Regions from separate parts of the Homo sapiens genome. Here region 2 is linked to region 1. The links are contacts of gene promoters, found by promoter capture Hi-C in blood cells and fetal thymus (Javierre and others, 2016). All regions are on one chromosome and are shown on one strand. The core of a region is centred on a gene start or on the middle of the fragment in contact, and the rest is flanking DNA. Distances in the headings are between cores, read along the strand shown.

Region 1 (2,549 bases), core at 1-2,500:
AGAGAGCTACCTCTTTTTTTTTTCCCCATCCATTTCAGGAAAGTTTAGGTTTTCATTTTTTTCCTATGGTCTTCTTAGAGTTGTTTCCACGTTAAAGTAGGAAGAAGTAACGAAAAAAAAGTGAGATTTGCCGAAAGCAAATGAAACTTGTTTTGCCTGGTTCTCTGGAAGGAGGTTGAAAAGGTAGACTATGATTTTTCAGGTTCAAACTGCTACTCTAACAAACATTGTCCTACAGGGTGGAATCCAGTCAACCGGTATTGAGATTGATTCGCTAAGGCCTCAGGACACTGGACATTCTTTTTAATTGTTTTTTTTGATTTCCATGACGACAGCTCACAAGACACTAGACATTCTTTTAGGCTCTCAGGTAAATGCGCAACAGGCAGTCTACAAATCCACAAATAAATCGCATCTCAACTCGGATACTGGGGCTAGGGAATGTGCTGATGGTAAAACCATTGGTCCTGACTGTGTGACCTTCATGGAAGGCCTGGGTGCTTAGAACAAATATTTTGAGGATATGGCTGCTTGCCCAAGGGCTGTGGGCCTGTATCTTGTTTGCTCATCATCCTGTCAGTCATTTTTTTCTTTCCCTTTTTTTAAAGACAAAATCTGAACCTAGAAACACCGAAGCCAGAGCTTTTTCTAGACGCGAATCCACTATTTGTGCGACCCTGCACTAACCATTCTAGCCTGGCCTAGACCATACCAGGAACCCTCCAGCTAGCCTGGAGGGGTCCGCACTGCGGGGAAAAAAGCAACAGCTCAGCTCCAACCCCAAAGGTTCCATCACCAGCCAATCGTGGCCCGGGGCTTCTCAAGAAAACCAGAAACGCCTACGGACAGTGAATGGCACTAAGGCCAGCCTATCCGCACGAAGGAGGCGGAAGGGGTGGTGTTGAAATTAACCAATAGAATGGAAGAAGTTGTTGTTGGGAGGGAGGAAGACGCCAGCTAACGTGCGTGAGGCCGCTCCCGGATAGGGGATGCAGGAAGCTCGTGGAGCCAATGGCCGCGGCGGGCGGGCGGCGGCGCGCGTGCGCGTTGGCCCCCGGGCCTGCGGGCGGGAGGCGGGGATGGTGGGGGAGGGGAGCGGGCTGGAGCGCGGCGGAGCTCCTGCCGCCGCCGCAGCCGCTGCCGCCGCAGCGAAGAGGCCATGTTGTGTGGTGTGTGGGGCGGGGGGAGGAGGAGGAGGGAGTAAAGCCTAGAGAGGAGACGGGAGAGAGACACCACACACACGGCACAAGATGGCCGGAGAGGCAGCAGCACCCCGAGCTGTCAGGCGTTCCGCCGCGGCCGCGAGGCCCGCCGGCCGGCGGGGAGCTACGCCCGGACGGCCAGCAGGCCCGCGGGAGTGGGGCTGCCGCGGCTGAGGCGAGGCGGGCCGCGCGCGTCGGCGTCACAGCCCGCGGCAGAGGCGCCCAGGGCGGCCGGGCCCACGACGCCGAAAGCGCCGCTGCGGTTGCCGCCTCGGAGGCTCCCCCGGGCCCCGGCGGCTGGACCCGGCGCGGGCGGGAGGCTCGGGCGGGCGGTCCGGCCCGGGACTCGGGTTTGGGCGACCAGGAGGTGCCGGTGGCCGCGCTCGGACCCGGTGAGTGGCTCCCTAGCTCCTTTTATTGTCCTTTGTCCTTGGGAGGAAAAGCAAAATGTCCTTGAGCGCGCGAGCAGGAGGGGGCGGCGGGCCGGGCCTCGCCGCTCGGCTCTTCTCGCACTGCCCCTCCGTGGTCGGGGGCCGGCTCTCGCCGGCGGGATGCGCCTCGGTGCCCTGGGCCCGAGTCGTAGGGTCCTGGGGTAGGGGGCACGCGGGGCCCCGCTGCAGAGCCCGCGGGCGGCAGGTGGGCGGGGGGCAGCCTCGTCGCCGGGACTGGATCCGCCGGGAAAGGGGCGGCGGGTGAATGCCGGCGAGAGCCCGAAGGGGATCGGGCGTGGAGAGCCCCTTTCTGTCCTGGTGAGTTATTTTGATATTTAGGGTAAAAAAATCCCTTTCAGGTTCTCCAACGGAGGAGCTTTTTAACCTCTTTCCGGTGAGGTGGGAACTCATCTTCATGATCGAATTTAAAAGAACAATGGAACCCTGACTACGTTTCAACAAAAATAAAACTTGTTTTTTTCCCTCCTATTGGGTGTTGGCTTTTAACTCTTTCAAAGCCGATTTTGAAACGGCTGCAGTGATACATGCGAAGGTACTTGCTGCTTATTAAACCTTTATGACGTTAAGGTTGTCTTTGAAAAATGCAAGTTGGAGGAGTGCTTCTGGTATTTCAGAATTACGAAGACAAGTTTACTGTGTCGTCAAGGCTGTTTAATGGAAATAGATTTGATAATTACGGTGCTAGCTAGCTGATGACGTTTGGTTAATGTAGTTTATTTTACCGAGTAATGACGCCAAGATCATTTGATCTCCTGATATTTAAATATGATTAAATACACTGTTTGGTACTTTTTAAAAAGGTCTCAAGGAGCCGTTATCTGCAACTTCTCACACCTGAATGTTAGAACGTACTTGGGTCAATTCCTAGTCTTTAAAAGTTCATAATTTAATTATT
Region 2 (2,549 bases), core at 38-2,537, 140 kb after region 1:
GGTGCCAGCCTCTTTTAAAGCACCAGCTCTCACGTGAACTCAGAGAACTCACTCATTATCACAAGGACAGCACCAAGCCATTTATGAGGGATCTGCCCAAACACCTCCCACTACAACATTGGAGGTCACATTTCAACATGAGATTTGGAGGGGACACATACCCAAACCGTATCACCATCTGGAGGTCTTTGGTGTGGCTGGTGAGAACAGGCACGATGCCAGTTCTTTGTGAGCACAGGGCACTGTTACCTTCAGTCTTTTCGGGTGGTCCTTTCCCTGGCCTTGGGTAGTTTCCCCACATGCACATCCTAAGCAGTATTCAGCTGTATACCTGGGAACCCTCTGTAGATCTTCAAACTTCTTTCTCTGCAGCACTGTCTTCTCTCATGCCATGCCCTGTGAACTCTGGCCACCTTGGTTCCCCATCCCTCACCTTGGGAAGCCAACTGGTGTCTTTCTGGGTTTCCTTCTTCCTGTGTCACAGCCTGAGGGACTATCTCATGATAGTGAACAGGAGCCGTTAAAAGGCTCATTTCATTAGTGTCCATTCCTCAGGGATCACTGTTCTTCATTGCCTGATGTCTGGTGTCTTGAAAACCACTGTTCTATGCATTTTGTCCCTTTTGGCTGTTTCAGGCAGGATGGTAAATCTAGTCCCTGTTATTCCATTTTGACTGGAACTTGAGATTGCTCACTTCTTCCTCCCTCTTTCTTTCATTGAGGTGAAATTCATATTACATAAAGGAACTATTTTAAAGCGAACAACTGAATGACCTTAGTGCATTTATAATATTGGGCAGCCACCACTTCTATCTAGTTCCAAAACACTTTCATCAGTCAGAGAAAACCCTATAACCATTAAATAATCCTTCCCCATTATTCCCTCTCCCCAGCCTCTGGCAGCCACCAGTTTGCATTCTGTCTCTCTGGATTTGCCTGTTCTAGACATTTCATATAGAAAGAGTCATACAATATGTGACCTTTTGTGTCTGGCTTCTTTCACTTAGCATAATGTTTTCAAGGTTCATTCATCAGTACTCATTCCATCCTTATGGCTGAATAATATTTCGTTGTGTGGATATATACCACATTTTGTTTATCCATTCATCTGTTGATGGACATTTGAGTTGTTTCCATCTTTGGGCTGTTGTGAATAATGCTGCAGTGAAGATTGGTGTACAGGTACTTGACTACCTGTTTTCAGTTTTGGATATGTGCCTGGGAGTGGAATTATTAGTCATATTCTTTACGTTTTTAGGAAACACCAAAATGTTTCTACGATGGCTGAACCATTTTACATTCCTACCAGCAATGTGTAAGAGTTGAAGGTTTTCCTTATCTTTGCCAACACTTATTTCCTGGGTTTTTTTTTTGTGTTTTTTTTTAATGAGTATCTCCATCTTCGTGGGTGTGAAGTAGTCTCATTGTGGCTTGAACATGCATTTCCCTAGTGATTAATGACATGGAGCATCTTCTCATGGTTTTTTTTGGCCATTTGTATAGCTTCTTTGGAGAAATGTCTGTTCAAATCCTTTGCCTGTTTTTGAGTTGGGTTGTTTTTGTTGTTGAGTTTTAGTAATTCTTTTTTTAATGGTATCATGAGCAGTTTACCATGGTCCAAGCTAAAAATTTTAATACTCTTCACACTGAGTTGGTTTTTAAGATAATTTTATTAACTAGTCACTCACTTGTTGCATATTTAGGTTGATGGTGTTATTAATAACTTACAAAATAATTTCTGTGGCTCTTTTTCTCATGGGCTGGGTCCAGGAATATGGTAATGTTTATGGATCTTACCAGATTTTTCCTAAAGGGAGTGAGTTTGCAAAAGCCATCAGTAATTTTTCAAGTGTGTACTTGTGTCACTGCACACTTGAGCCTTATTTCATAGGATGTATTTTGCTAATAAGTGTAAAATGACTCTGTTATTAATTTTTTTGATTCCTAATAATGTGAGCATTTGTCCTTGAATATGAGTATATGAGGAAGAGCCAAGTGGGTAGTGAAGAGAAGTGGATGGGAATCTGGCTTCAGTCTTTCGACTAATCCTTGCATCTCTATTTCAGGCACCATCATGACTCCAAGCGGAGGAGATCCGATGAATTTAGGCCTCAAAATTACCACCAGCAGGATTTCCGACGAATGTCTGATCACCGCCCCGCTATGGGCTACCATGGCCAGGGACCCTCAGACCATTACCGCTCTTTCCACACAGATAAACTGGGGGAATATAAACAGCCTCTACCCCCATTGCACCCTGCAGTCTCAGATCCTCGCTCACCCCCTTCTCAGAAATCTCCTCACGATTCCAAGTCACCCCTGGATCATAGGTCTCCTTTGGAGAGATCACTAGAACAGAAAAACAACCCAGATTATAACTGGAATGTTCGGAAAACATAAAGGACAGCTCGTAAAGGAGAGAGTAAGAGTCACCAAACACGTGGATATTTTTGGTCTGATCCTACAGTAGCCGGTTATCTAGACCAGTAAGTGGAGTTTTGGACATGCTGCTGCTGTCAACTCACTGGCTGAAGGAGCACTTCAAGGAA

Evidence for each region. The method cuts DNA at HindIII sites, captures the fragments that hold promoters and counts their contacts. A CHiCAGO score of 5 or more calls a contact.
Region 2: a contact is called between a fragment that was not itself captured here and the fragment with the promoter of CHASERR in region 1, in 3 of 17 cell types (total B cells, neutrophils and non-activated CD4 T cells). The highest score is 7.5, in total B cells.

The regions. Positions count from the first base shown.
Region 1 is chr15:92,881,593-92,884,141 of GRCh38, forward strand. CHASERR (CHD2 adjacent suppressive regulatory RNA) reads left to right here and starts at 1,251. Exons shown (of 6, transcript NR_037601.1): 1 at 1,251-1,594; 2 at 1,993-2,186. RefSeq lists enhancers at 578-667, 1,093-1,734 and silencers at 978-1,107, 1,728-1,977. The HindIII fragment of the contact is 7,161 bases long and covers 1-2,549 here.
Region 2 is chr15:93,022,306-93,024,854 of GRCh38, forward strand. It overlaps CHD2 (chromodomain helicase DNA binding protein 2), which reads left to right. Exons shown (of 39, transcript NM_001271.4): 39 at 2,067-2,549. The coding sequence ends at 2,400. Among named protein-coding and RNA genes, the nearest start is that of RGMA, 66 kb to the right of the region's middle. The HindIII fragment of the contact is 5,768 bases long and covers 1-2,549 here.